Linked DNA regions of Homo sapiens: region 2 is linked to region 1. The links are contacts of gene promoters, found by promoter capture Hi-C in blood cells and fetal thymus (Javierre and others, 2016). All regions are on one chromosome and are shown on one strand. The core of a region is centred on a gene start or on the middle of the fragment in contact, and the rest is flanking DNA. Distances in the headings are between cores, read along the strand shown. Region 1 holds the start of STS (steroid sulfatase). Region 2 holds the start of LOC105373156 (a long non-coding RNA gene).

What was found. Contacts are between HindIII fragments. The CHiCAGO score rates a contact against its expected background, and 5 or more counts as called.
Region 2: a fragment that was not itself captured here is called in contact with the fragment with the promoter of STS in region 1 in 1 of 17 cell types (fetal thymus); the score reaches 5.1 in fetal thymus.

What each region holds. Positions count from the first base shown.
Region 1 is chrX:7,144,848-7,152,380 of GRCh38, forward strand. It overlaps STS (steroid sulfatase), which reads left to right and starts at 2,865. Exons shown (of 11, transcript NM_001320752.2): 1 at 2,865-3,236. It overlaps PUDP (pseudouridine 5'-phosphatase), which reads right to left and starts at 3,306. Exons shown (of 4, transcript NM_012080.5): 1 at 3,206-3,306. The coding sequence starts at 3,266. It overlaps MIR4767 (microRNA 4767), which reads left to right and starts at 3,013; the gene lies at 3,013-3,090. RefSeq lists a silencer at 2,826-3,545 and an enhancer at 3,736-3,785. The HindIII fragment of the contact is 8,353 bases long and covers 1,650-7,533 here.
Region 2 is chrX:6,219,317-6,226,849 of GRCh38, forward strand. All of the region lies in intron 1 of NLGN4X (neuroligin 4 X-linked), which reads right to left. It overlaps LOC105373156 (a long non-coding RNA gene), which reads left to right and starts at 7,042. Exons shown (of 1, transcript NR_136577.1): 1 at 7,042-7,533. The HindIII fragment of the contact is 2,132 bases long and covers 5,139-7,270 here.

The sequences.
Region 1 (7,533 bases), core at 1,615-4,114:
TAAAAGGATTTTAAATAATTCTGTATTAGACTCCAAGAAAACACATTTTACACATACCACATTTTACATACACCAAAACTCCTAATTCTGAATATTCTTAACACCCACCCTCTGCCTGACCCTCCCAGCATAGCCATTATCAACAGACATCTTGGGTTGCTCCACAAAGACCTAGACCCATGCTGTCCAAGCCAGTAGCCACCCACCAAATGAGGCTACAGAGTGCCTGAAATGAGGCTAGTTCAAACTAAGATGTGTTGTATGTATAAAACACACACAGATTTTGAGGACCTAGTATCAAAATTAATGTCAAACACTTCAAAGATTTTCTTATACTGACTTTGTATTAAATAATATTTTTGATACATTAGGTTACATAACATACATCATCCAAATCAATGTCATCTGTATCTTTTTACTTATTAAAAATTGCTCCCCAAAATTTTTACCTGGCTCAATTCTATGAGACAGAACTGCTCTGGACAACAAACTGTCTTCTCTTTTAAAGAAATTGGGACCATCTTTTGTGTTCCTAATTTCAGTTATTTACAAACAGAATAATCTTCCCTGTCCAGCTGCTGAGATACTGTTTAATAATTGTCATCTTCTTATTTCAAAATCATCCCAGTTTTTAACTAATCCCACTCCCCTACTCTCTTTCTCTGAATGGCATTTGAGAGCCAAAATTATTAATATTACCTAAATCATAACTGACTCTTACCTTGGTCATGAGAAACAGAAACCGAAGTGTATTTTTTTTTTTTTTTAAAGGACAACTAACAGCATCGTGCATGTCAAAAGCATGGGAAAGTGTCCTGGCTTTCTTCCTGGTCAACATTTCCTCTAAAATCTCCATTTACTTCCTCATTCTCCTCTGATTAAACAATCTTCTCCTCTAATGTTAACAATCCTCCATGAAACTATTCGTTTTCAATTTTACTTCCCCAAGTATGCAAGTATTGGGGCTACATAGACAAACAGAACTTCCTAGAAAAATGCATTCAAAATTCCCGAAAAACAGACCTATTGTAAAATAACTCATTATAAATTGATAGTATATTGTTATGCAAACAACAGATACACTGAAGTGAGGTGCTAAAGAATGACAGCAGGCATAATCTGGTAGATTAAATTAAAGTGGCACATCTTGGAAAGCTGTGTTTTATATTTACACATTTGGTGAAAGAATGGGATAAACAAAGGTATATTTCCAAGAAAGTTTTGCAAGGCCTTACCACCTCAAAGAAGAGGTAGGGCAGGAAAGGAGGAAATGGGCAGAAAATGAGGGGGGGGAATAAAAAGAAGCAGGGCTTATTTTTCCAAATAGCACTAATTCTTGGTTATCTGACTAGATCAGAGGATTGGGTAACAATGTGAGGTCAATGCTTGTAATGCCATTTAAGTCACATTCATCACTTCAGGGCATGGCTATGTGTGAATCTAGAATCAGAATTAGGCACCAAGCTCATTTAGAAGTTTAATAAATTTAATTTTAATGAGACATCTTGTTTGGTATTAAAATTCATGAGACTCCCAGAACAGGTTCTCTGGACCTTTATTAGAGGATAAGAAATTTATTTGACAATTTAACTTTTTGACCACCGGAGTAGGAAAATTCATGTCTACAAACTATACCTATGTATCCCACAAGCTTTCTGAAATTGAGTCATTTCAAATTTAGTAGCTGCATACACCGTTGGCTCCAATTAGTGACCTCTACGGGGATTTTTTTTTTCCTTTGGAATTCATCAGTTTACACCTCTGTGTTCATAAAATGAAGAGAATGGTTTCTGCATGCCTTTTTAAAAGGAAACACTGCTAGGGAATTACCCAGCAATATGATGAGCAGAAACAAGGTCACATTCACAATTTAAGATGAGCTCAACATCATTTATATTTAGAACTGGATCAATCCAGAATCGTTTCTCAGCTTGGCTTATTAGCTGTGTGACCTTGGGCAAGTAGCTTTACCTCTCTGAGCTGCAGGGTTTTTTTTTTTTTTTTTTTTTTAATTAGTGACATGCAAATACTTCCTCCTAACTTGCAGGGTTTTGAAATGAAGGAATGATATACGTAACCAAGCAGGTCAGCTGTCTACAAAGAGTATGCAGACATGTTTATAGATATATGAAGCCTCCTGGTGATTATGTGTCATAGTGTTAACTGTGTCAAGGCTTTCGGTAGAGCTCAGCATAGTTCTGTCTTGAGTTAAAAACAGGGTTTTATTCTTTGAATTCTACTTGAATTCCTCTTGGCTGGTGAAGTTCACATGTGCTAAGACTGACTACCTTAGTACACTGCCAAGGGTTTCTTAATGCCTCGGATTGATAGAGCAGCTGTTCTCAAACGTTCACGCGCTTAAAATGCAGATTCTGATTGGGCAGGGGTAGGGTGGGGCCCCAGCTTCTACATTTACAAGTAGCCCACAGGTGATGTCCCCGGTGCTGGTCACCCTAGGCAGCCAGGCCACTTGACGGACCTTCTGTGCCTCTACACTGTTGACGGCGCGGGATAATTCCTTATGGTTGCATAGGGCACTCCTGTGCACTGCGGGAAGTTTAACAGTATCACTGGTCTGGACTCCACTAGATGCCAGTGACCCCATCACTCCTCGCCAGCTGTGACAGCCAAAATGTCTCCTGACATCGCCATTGCCAGATGCCCTCAGGGCTGCAAAACCGCCAGGTAGAGAACCGCTACCATGCAGGATGCTACCATCAAAGTGCGCCCACAGCAGCAACCTTGGAGCAGGCAGGCAAGTATCCTCCAGGCTACTTTGCAGACGGGGAAGCTGAGGCTGGGCACCGCTCAAGGTCGCACGCATGCGTAACCGAAAAGAGAGCGCGGAGGTCCCGCCGCGCCTCGCTCTGAGGAGAGGACGCGGAGCCGCGCGCCCGCCCGGTGGACCCCAGGGACTGCTCCCACGTGCTCCGGCCCCACGCGCGGGCCGCCGACCGGAAGCGGGTGCTGGGGCCGCGTAGACGCCGCGGCCACGCGCGCCCGCCAGCCCGGACATGGGCCCGCGGGCGCTCCTGGCCGCCGCCCGACTTCGGGGCCAGCCGGGGGCAGAGCGCGCGGGAGCCCGAGCGTCCCTGCATGAACACCGCCCCGCCGCGGCCCCCAGGCCGTGACGTACCCCGCGCCGACCGTCCCCACGCCCACACAAGACCGCCCTTACTGGAGGCGGCGGCTGCACACTACCCACCCAGAAGAAGTCCGTCCATGTCAAAGATGAGGTGGGTGACGGGCTGCGGGGGCGCCGCCATGGTGGCGCCTTCTGGGTCTGGGTGGGGGCGAGGAGGAAGTGCGCGCGCACCCGCCCGCCCCGCGCACGCGCACTGAGGACCTTCTCGCGCGCCCGGGGTCGCTCTGCGCACGCGCCTTCCGCGGCCCCTCGCCCGGCTCCGAGCCCGCGCGTCCTGGGCTGCCTAGTGGCGCTCCGCGCACGCGCACCTTGGGCTTTCGCCGCAGCTGTAGCTGCAGACCCGGGATGCGGCGCGGGCCGGCGCTGTATGTTTACCCGCATCAATTCCTCCTCACTTCACACCCGGAATCGGGCCAAGCTACTCAGCCAGCGGCCGCGCAGAGCCGAGGCCCTCGTCTGGGGACAAATTCAGTGCTTGAGTTTGGATCAGGGGTGTGAATGAGGAAGGAGGGACAGTACAAGGGGCTGTAGAGTGGGGAAAGGGGATTGAAGATGCTCAGGGTGGTATCACTTCTAGCCATCAGGTTGCAGACAAATGGCCTTGGTCAGGAGGTCCCTGGGTGGGTTCGCCCGAGCCCCCAGTCCCTGGACCGTGGGTGGGTTTTTCTCAGTTTCGCTTGCCCGCCTCCTTGCGGTCCTGGACCGCGACTTGAACCGGCAGCCGCGCATGCGCAGTGTGCGGAGAGGCTGCACAACCTCCGTGCCTGCATCTCTGAGCATCCCAGGCTGGTGCATTGTCCCAGAGCAAAGCCAAGCTGCTCAAGGAGGATGCTGAAATAATACTAACAGTCAACATGTCTTGCTGGTTGTGCCTTCTTAGGTATCATCTGTCTTTTGGGCTGCTCTGAGTTTTCTTTCTTTTTTAACTTTTCAAATGCCACCTAAACAGCTTTCTTTTTTTTTTTTCCCGTTTGCCATCGTCAAAAAAATACTTTTTTGTCCCTGTTTCTATTTCGTGTTCGTTTATGTGGTATATTCACGTTTAAGGAAAAGGATTGGACCTTTTGAGAAGCGGAAATAGGAGAATTTCAAGACTTTAAAAACGTGAGGGTGTGCTGGGCGCAGTGGCCCACACCTGTAATCCCAGTACTTAGGGAGGCAGAAGTGGGAGTTGGGGGAATAGTTTGAGCCCAGAAGTTTAAGAACTGCCTGGGCAATATAGCGAGACCCTGTTCTCCACAAAAGGGGAAAAAGACAAAAAAAAAAAGGTGTAAACATGAGAGTGTATTTCTAGTTTAGTGCAGACATAGTGGACAGGGGCATGCCTGGATTCAGCAAGAATTATTATCTATGATAGACAAAGTGCACCTGTGTCTGTTTCCTCCTGGGTAAAATGGAGGTGATAAAGGAGGTGAGGCAGGCCAAGCCCTTAGTACCAGTGCATAATATATAGTCAATAAAATTATGTGTTCTTAGAGGTGGTACTATAAGAGAGCTTCCCCCATTTAATGCAATCGTGATTTCCCTTTGAGGACACGGGATTTCAGAGAAGGCAATTTATGAGCAAATTAGGTAGGGACTTGCGCCTCAAATACAGTCGTTCGTGGTTTCTGTATTAGTTTACTACAGCTGCCATAGTAATATACCACAGACTAAGTAACCTAAACAGCAGATGTGTATTGTGTCACAGATCTGGAGGCCAGAAGTCCTAGATCAAGATGTCAGCAGTCTTAATTCCTTCTGAGGGCTGTGAGGAAAGGACCTATTCCAGGTCTTTCTCCTCAGCTTGAACCTGCTTTCCTTTCCCTGTATCTTGTCCTATCGTCTTCCCTCTGTGTGTGTCTCTGTGTCCAAATTTTCTCCTTTTATAAGAACACGATTCTTATTGGACTAAGGACCACCCTAATAACTACATTTTAATTTGATTACCTCTGACAAAATCCTGTTTCCAAATAAGGTCACATTCTGAGGTAGCGGGGATGAGGACTCCAACATATATTTTTGGGAACACAATTCCATAATAGATGCATTGCACACACATAGCTGTGGTACCTACAGTAAGTATGACAGTATTTCCCACCTGGAGTCTGTAGAATTCTCCCTCCCAGTTTCCTTCCATTCTCTGGAAACAAATGGATGCACACATGTCAGAGTTACTGTTATTTTTTTGGTATTGTAACCACCTCACATTTCTGTTTAGTCATTAAATTAAAAAAGAGTATTTTTCTTTTTTCTTTCTTCTTTTATGAGACAGAGTCTCACTCTGTCACCCAGGCTGGAGCACGGTGGCGCAATCTCTGCTCACTGCAGCCTCAGCCTCCTGGGTTCAAGTGATTCTCCTGCCTCAGCCTCCCAAGTAGCTGGGATTACAGGCGCCAGCCACCACACCCAGCTAATTTTTGTATTTTTTAGTAGAGATGGGGTTTTACCATGTTGGCCAGGCTGGTCTTGAACTCCTGACCTAGTGATCTGCCCACCTCGGCTTCCCAAAGTGCTGGAATTACAGACGTGAGCCACCGCCCCCGGCCAAAAAAGAGTATTTTTCAAAGGAAAAAAGGCCCCAATGCCATTTTGACGAAATGGCAAAGCCTCACAGCGATTGTGGAAGAGACAGATTGGGAAATCGTAGGTACTTCAGCTCTCCACAGATGTGAAAACATGCTTCACATTATGTTTTTATCAGTCTTATTTTCTACACTTTTCAGTAACATCACTTCTATGCATAAGATGGAAGACTCCTCTTTGCTTAAAAAAAAAAAAACAAACTGAATGGTGAATGCTTCTCTGTCACAAGCTAGATTGGAAAAGAATGAAATTTTGTTCTAGCAATGTGGTTTGTACACATATAACAAGTTAGTTTTTAGCTTTTCATAATTCTCCAACAGCCAAAGATGGGCAGTTTCTATGCTGATGGGGATGCATTTCCTTCCATGAATTACAGTTTACTTTTGTACAGTTGTGTTCTCCCCATGGGACAATAACTTACTTTTCCTGACAATTTTAAGACACAATAGAAATGATCCAGTAAACTACAGTACGATGGCATCAAAAGCACATTATCAATGGGACAAATAAACAGATGCTCTTCTTTCACACAACATGTAAACTTAAACATGCCATTTATTGTGTGTATATATATGCCATCCTGTAGGGAGTCTTAGCTTATTTCAACTTCCTTAGTTTGTTGTCCTGGTTCCTGTGTCTCTGTGCTTTTGTTATCTGTTGTATTTGGTTTCCAGTCTGCTGTATCTGTTTTCTGTGAGCCCACTTTGCCCTGTTATTCTCTTTACTTTTCTAGGGGTACAAATCTTGCCCAGCGTAGATGGAGGGTAACAGGTTGGACTAGGGACCATCTTTCTCAGTGGCTGTACACAGTCTACTTTTCTTGATGATGCTGAGAGACCAGAAAGCTCTGACTTCATCTGATGGGGCCTGAATTTGAGCTCCTCATTGCAGACTTACCTGCCTTCTTCCCCTAGATAGCTGGCTTTGCAACGCTGACTTAGGAAGTCTCTTGCTTCAGAGGCACTGAATATTCTCACCCCTTCCCGCTGCTGCTTTCCTCCAAGCCCAGTGAGCTCTGGAAGGGAGCCTGACATAGATGGCTGAATTCGCCACTCCTGGCTTTGTACTCTCGGACATATCTGGTATTTTTGTGTGGGGAGGGTCATTGTTTTTGAACCCCTTCACCATCAGAGTGCAAACTGGCTCTGAGCGAGAGGTCCAGTTTGCTTCTCTGCAGTGTTGGATAACAGATGTGGTCGGAACTGGCAGTGCCAGCATCCCCTGGGAGCTCACTAGAAATGCAGAATCCCAGCTGCCACCCCCAGACTGACCAACTCAGCATCTGCCTTTCAACCAGGGCATCCAATGGTCTAGACCATTGACCCCCTCCTGGGGTATACCAGCTACTTCATTGTGGGGAGGGGGCTTAGGATTATTATTATTATCGTTATTTTATTTATTCGTTTATTTTTTGAGATGGAGTCTCACTCTTTCGCCCAGGCTGGAGTACAGTGGCACGATCTTGGCTCACTGCAAGCTCCGCCTCTCGGGTTCACGCCGTTCTCCTGCCTCAGCCTCCCAAGTAGCTGGGACTACAGGCACCCGCCACTATGCCTGGCTAGTTTTTTGTATTTTTAGTAGAGACGGGGTTTCACCATGTTAGCCAGGATGGTCTCGATTTCCTGACCTTGCGATCCGCCCCCCTCAGCCTCCCAAAGTGCTGGGATTACAGGCGTGAGCCACCACGCCCGGCCAGGATTATTATTTTAATGTAAAGAAGTAGCAAATGTGTTAAGTTTACCAAGATTTATTTTTATTTTATTTTATTTTATTTTTTGAGACAGGATCTCACTGTGTTGCCCAGGGTGGAGTGCAGTGGCGTG
Region 2 (7,533 bases), core at 4,955-7,454, 920 kb before region 1:
CCCTTCCTTTCTTCTTTCCTTCCTTCCTTCCCTCCTTCCTTCCTTCTTTTTCTCTTCTTTCTTTCCTTCCTTCTTTCCTTCTTTCCTTCATTCCCTCCCTCTCTCCTTCCTTTTTCTCTTCTTTCTTTCCTTCCTTTCTTCTTTCCCTCCTTCCCTCCTTCTCTCCTTCCCTTCGATCTATCATCCTTCTCCCTCCCTCCCTGCTTCCTTTCTTCCTTCCTTTTCTCTTTTCTTTCTTTCTTTCTTTCTTTCTTTCTTCCTTCCTTCCTTCCTTCTTTCCTTCCCTCCCTTCCTCCCTTCGTTCCTCCATCCCTTCCTTCTTCCTTCCGTCCTTTCTTCCTTCCTTCTTCCCTTCCTTCTTTCTTCCCTCATTCCTTTATTCTATTTGGATGAGTGACAAGGTCTCAGGGATCCTTAAAGTATTAAAGAGAAAATGAAGATAATTCTATAGAATAACAGATCAAATAGGAAAGAGTAATGAAAAGAAAGACTCCTGGAATGACAAAGAAGCATGTTCATGACAATTTAATAGAATTTCCCACATGCCATATTTGTATAGCTGGTTATATTTTAAAACTTTGTCAAACCCTATATTTATAAAACCTTGATTTTGATTTTAGTAAATTCTATGAATAAATGCATACATAAAGCAGATTACTTTGATTCGACAAAAACATACAGGCACCTGTGAGCTTTTTTTTTTTTTATGTGGTAGTGGAAACAGCCTCATTAATTAATGGCTATTTCCTATATTCTTTTTAAAATTAATAAGCAACAGTCAGATATTTCAGCATTTTTAAGGCATGAACAATACCTTGGATTCTAATATATTTTAGTCTAAAATATCTGGTAACATCACAGATAATTGTTTCAAACTCTACCACCCCTCACACAATTTATTTTTCAACAATTTAAAGTCTTTTAGAATAATGAGATAACCTTAAAAATAGACAACATTACTCATACTGGTGAGCTAGGATTGCTTAAAGATGAGGCATAGATTGCATTGTCTCAGAGGAAAATATTTCTCAGAGGGACCAAGAGAAATAAAGGTGAGAATCTTCTACAAAGGCAGATAAAAGGGTTATGAGTTTAGCGTTGGTAAAGGGTGCCTAGTTTGATCTTTGTAAAAGTTGTCTATTTCTCCATACAAGTACACAACATTGCACAATATTGATGGACAAGAGAGGGTAGAATTTTGTCACACATAGATAGTTTCACTATAAACATAGGCGGTAACACCTTTTTTGGAACTAGTACTCAAATTAGAAAAAAAAAGCTTCCAGGAGACCTAGAGAAAATGGACACCTGTCCCTTAAACACATACTTTCTACTTACTTAGGTCTCATGTTAACGAATGTCTTCACTCCTAAATAAGGAGTACATCCAGACCCATCATAGGTAACTTTATAACTTTCTTTTTTTTTTTTTTTTTTTTTGAGACAGAGTCTCGCTCTGTCACCCAAGCTACAGTGCAATGGCACGATCTTGGCTCACTGCAACCTCCCCCTCCCAGGTTCAAGCAATTCTCCGGCCTCAGCCTCCTGTATAGCTGGGATTACAGGCACACACCACCACACCCAGCTAGTTTTTGTATTTTTAGTAGAGACAGGATTTCGCCATGTTGGCCAGGCTAGTCTTGAACTACTGACCTCAGGTGATTCGCCCACCTCAGCCTCCCAAAGTGCTGGGATTACAGGCGTGAGCCACCACGCCTGGCCAACTTTATAACTTTCATTGTACATTTTCTATTTTTATTTATTATTTATTTATTTATTTATTTATATTTTTAGAGATAGGGTCTTGCTCTGTCTCCCAGGCTGGAGTACACTGGCGTAATCATAGCTCACTGCAGCCCTGAACTCCTGGGCTCAAGTGATCCTCCCACCTCAGCTGGAACCACAGGTACTTGCCATCAGGCCCGGCTAATTTGTTTTTAATTTTTGTTTCTTTGTGGAGTTGGGGTCTCACTCTATTACCCAGGCCAGATGTTATGAGTTGTTTAATATAGATTTGGTGAATGATGAGGATAAGAAAAAGAAAATAATGGAAAACCACATTTTTCCTTCTTATATTATATATATATATATATATATATATATATATATATATATTTGCTTTTATCTAATGTGTTGCAATGGCTGAGAAAAACATTTTCAGCAAAGACTAGTTCCTAGTTAATGTGTTAGCATATGCATACATGTATGTGTATACACCCGCTCATACACACTGCCATTCTTACCATGTAGCTTCAGGGCATGAGGGCATATTGTCTCACTTAGGAAAACAGTTAACAATGACATATTTTGTTTGTGAAAACATGCATTTACTTTTGTGAGTTTCCCCACCTAACCCATTCACAGAGTTATAGTCACAGAGAGTACTGAAGAGTGGAATAAGTTAAAGGCACTCAGTTGCAGCGAGCTTCTTCTGCCCCCATCCCCCATGCTTTTGAGACCACAGTTCCATGCTGAACAGCTCTGACCATTGGAGTCACACGGCATGCCTCACTGAGTTCTTGGACTTGCCCGTCCCATACTCCAGAGCCACATATTGGTGGTGTTGAAATACTAAACATGGAAAATGGCACCGCATGCAACTTCACCACAGCCATCATCACAGAACCAAAGAGGCCTTTTCTGCACTTTACAAAAACAAACCACAATTCACCATAGCTCTTTTATCAGTGCCAATAACACTTTTAGTAACCTCAGTCCTTTCTTTTTTAAAGGATCCAAAAACTTACCAAGTAATGCAACTTGAAACAACCCAAGTTCCTTTTCAGCTTATATGACAGGCTAAGTTTCACTCCTGAAAAAGGTGCCCTTAGCAAAATCCGTGTCCCCTCTCCCCAACCAAAGCATACAAACAACCAAACAAAAACAAACAGAAAATGAGCCTGGATGAAGGGTTGATGTGGGAGCCGGACAGATGCCCACAGATGTTAATAAAATCACATGTCTGGGGTGATGGCTTTGAGATCCAAGTTTTCATCATCCAATCAGGTACCAGCCTCTTAAAACCAAAATGATCACCGATATTAACAGGTGGAGCTAAGAAAGTCCTGTTGTAAGCCAAAAATAGCACTCTGTTACTTTGACAAACCATGATTTCTTTATATAATATACATTTTAAATAAAACAACCCAAACAAAATTCTGGGCCATTTATCCACATTTCCAGAGAGCAGTGAAAGCCTAGATCGTTTCATTAGCACTATACTGAAATTAACATTTCTCTCTTTGAAATGTATTCCTCAACTAATGAGGACCTAAATGTTCATTGTACTTCATCTCCTTTCTAAATTATGGAGGATTACTCTTTTCCTGTCTCAAATAAATTCAATAAAACCTCATGATATGGTTTGGCTTTGTCCCCACCAAACCTCATCTTGGATTGTAGCTCCCATAATCCCCACGTGTCGTGGAGGGATGTGGTGGGAAGTAATTGAATCATGGGGGCAGTTTGCCCCATGCTATTCTTATGATAGTGAGTAAGTTCTCACAAGATCTGTTGATTTTATAAGGGGTTTCCCCCTTCACTCGGTTCTCATTCCTCTCCTTCCTGCCATCATGTGAAGAAGGAAGTATTTGCTTCCCCTTCCACCATGATTGTAAGTTTCCTGAGGCCTCTCCAGCCATGCTGAACTGTGAGTCATTTAAACCTCTTTCCTTTACAAATTACCCAGTCTTGGGTATGTCTTTTTTAGCAGCCTGAGAATGGATTAATACACCTCATCTCACTATATATATAATAATAAGATATATAGTGTATTTTTATATACATGATGCAGACCTTACTATAATATGTATTACCATATATATATTATATAGTAGGATACATATCTTACTATATATAGTTTTTTATATACGTATTTTAGTATTGTTGGGGTTAGGTCTGTTCTCCTTCAGGTACCATTTCTGGGAAGATGAGAGTGCCTTGGGAAGATGTGGTGTATGGAGGTGTTCCGCACACACCTGGGACACGTGAACTGAACACGAGATGTCTAAAGTTTGAAATCTCAGCCCGAGGTAGATGGGCTGTTTTCCACCACCAACCTTCCACTCCCGTAATGATTTTATGAGGCTTTTATTTACTTATTTTTTGTTTAATGTAACCACCTGCAGAGGGAAAGCCTTTTCATCTATACATTTATTCAAAGCCTATAAATGGCACAATGACAAACTGCTAGGAGCTATCACCTTCTTTTTTTTCTTGTTCATGTGTGCTACTGTGCTCCAAGAAAAATGAGGAAGGGCTTCCTACACTGCCGTTCACTTAACAAAGAACAGTGGAGCCTTTCAAAGTCCAAATGTAGGTTGTTTAGAGAAAAATGACAGAACTGGAAAATATTCGTTGAGTGAATGGTAGTAGAGAGCACAGCAGATGACCTAATTGCCTCAGCAGCCTGGGCTTCAATTTTGATTCTCACTTCCTCTAATTGACTGTGCAAAAGATGTATCTTTGATTTAAAACTGGTAGCTCAGGAGTTTAAGAAATCAGTGGTGGCTATTCAAATCTGTCTGAATATCCATTCACATAATTAAATAGGAGACGAAGTCTCTCCTCTGAAAAAGTACAGTACTCAGACAAAAACACACACAAAAAGAGCAACAGATTTAAACTAAACTGAACATATTTCCCCATTTGGGAATAGAATACATATTGTTAAAAGGCAGAAAGCAGTACAGAAAGAATACATTCTGGTTTACAAACTAAAATCGTGTCTCTTACACTTGACATTCACATCTTAAGACCAACTCTCACCTTATTTGGAATATAAGTATATTTTAACCAGATAAGCCTATCTTTAGAAGGAGGATACTAAAGGACTTAAAATATTTGTATATTGCTACTTCATTTGAATGCAATGCATTCGCTCAACAAGTTGCATTATTGGCAATATTCAACAGTATTACAAAAGGTTTGAAATGTGGCGTACCAATTAAAAAGAAAGAATGTTAAACGGAGGTCATTCCCTCGTGCACTTGAATGTTTAGTTTTTTGAGAACCTTTTGGTTGTGGTCTAGAAATAAAAGCACAGTATTCCAAATGGCTTTTAAAGAGACCCCTGCACTTCCAAAAGCAAGTCTCTGTTGCGGAGTCAGTCAACACTCTCATCTTTGTGGAGAGACTATAAGCTTTCCACAAATTACTACACACAAAACAATGAAATAGCCAAGTTCACAAATTTTAAAAAATCTATATATTTACCATTAGGCTACATTCCAGGCCAACAACTATGAACTTTCAAATTCTTTCAAGTCTGCTTGTAAATTTCACAGCATCAAGATAACTTCATTATCTACCTTATGCAGCCACCAGTCCCTTATCAAGTATCTGTTACATTCTCAGGTTTGGGTAAAAATCAGCTAGGTTACTGGTTTGAGGGCCAACTGTATACTCGGCATTAGTTTATTTAAATAAAACGCAAAGAAAAGTAGCAATTCTTCCACTGGAGAAGAAAACATCAAAGCATCTTTAAAACTGCATCCACGCACAGGCATTATTATGAAAATGCAATTATTATTCTGATTTCAAAAAAAAATGAAGCCTTCCATTTTAATCTACTGACTTAAAACTGATGAAGTAATTTTCCACTTGCTACAACTGGCCCTGATTATGTTCTTACATGTCAAAGAAAATACTCTTTAAAATGGCCATATATATATATATATATATATATATATATATATACACACACACACACATATATGTAGAAATGTAGAATGCGTGTGTGTATGTCTGTATACACACATACACACACACGCATTCTACATTTCATTGAGTAATAAAATACTGAATTTCTAATCTGAGAAAATACATGCTTGCAGAGTTCTCCATGAAATTCCTGTATTCTTAATTTTAGGATACACAGAAATTCCATATTTTTTTCTGGAAATACAGGGATTAATGCAACCATGTGCCATTAGCCATCCCTCCCCCACTTAACATTTTGCTCATTTCCACAGGAAAATCTATGCTGAGGATTTAATGGATTACTGCTAACATCTTCCCCACAGCCAACTAAAGGTATGAAATAATTCTCCACTCTCCAAATCTGCCCCCACAAAACGGCAGATTTCTTTGCTATCTGATTTCACCCCGCTCTGCCATCCCCTAGGAAAAGGCTCAGTGCGTCCATTCAAACCATGCAGGTCTCTTGCAGTTTCTGCCGCTTTGTTCTCATCAAAGTCAGGTGTTTGCACCCTGGCCATTTAATTTCTAGCTGGAGAAGGAAGCTACCCCGGATTTCTTAAGCATGCACTTCTATGTTGCCCGCAGAACGCCCACACAAACTGGCAATTCTGCTTCGTCAGGATAACGAGGTCTCCCTAAACTTTTTCTTTTCCTTTTTTTTCTTTCTTTTTTTCTTTTTTTTTTTTTTTTTTTTTTTTTTTTTTTTGCTTTTGCCTTCCTCACATCACCGGAAGGGCTGATTCTGAGATGGGAGCTCACGCACACCACCCCCTTTCAAGAAAATATAATGCAACGCGCTCCGATGTAAACCCTACGGGCAACGGATGCCTTCAAAAAGCATAAGATAAGAGCAACAACAACAACAACAAACCACCGCCCCCCCCAAAAAAAATGACCAAATAGAAATAAAATAAAATAAAAATAAAAAGAAGCCATACTACCACCTTGTGGATCCAGCTCGCAAGAACATCACCTGCTTAGTTCCAAAACCCCCACCCAACCCCCACCCCAAATTTCTTAAGTTGGGTCCAAATGACAGATCGGGATCCTCTGTCCTCACTCCCCGCAGACTCGCCCAAGCCCTAGGCTGAATTCGTGACGCGCGCGCCCAGCACCCGGGCGAGTTGCAAGCCCCGGCGCACCGCAGGGGCCAAAACCCCGCCGGAACCTCCTAGGACCCCTTCACGCTGCCTCCTGCACCCCCTCCCCCGCCATCCCCGAGATAGCAGCAGCACATACACAAAAAGAGGCTGACACCTGCCGTAGGTTCAGAGGAAGAAGGCAGAGAAAAAGAAACCCGCAGTCCGGAAAAAAAAAAAGCCTTCTGGGGAAGGGGAGGGGTATGATGCGGAGGACGTCCTCCGGCTGCCCCTCGCTCTCCATGCAGAACATCCGTTCCCAGGGTGGCCCGGGCCAGGCCTCGGGGGTGCAAGGGTTGGCCTGACCCCCCTGCTCCCGCCCCCGCCGCTCCGGGAAGAAAGGGCGCTGTGTCTGGCGGCGAGCAGGCGCCGGAATCGTGCGCTCGGGCCCAGGGTTGCACGGAGCACTGGGCCCGGATACCGGGGGCGCAAAGCTTCGGGTGCGGCCCAGGAGAACCCCGCCGAGGGACCCCAGCCTACCGGTTCTCGGAGGGGCGAAAGAGCCAGGTCAGGTTGAGGGACAGGAGGAGGAAGGGGTGTCCAGGAGACTGACTGAAGGATGAGAGTGTCCTCCGGGGTAGCGACCGGCCTCTTGGAAAACCAGAGGCGGAGGGAGCAGCCGCGGAGTGGAGGGCGCAGGCCGGGACCTGGGCCTCTCCTCCCACAGCAAGCCCCCCACCCACGCATCATCTGCA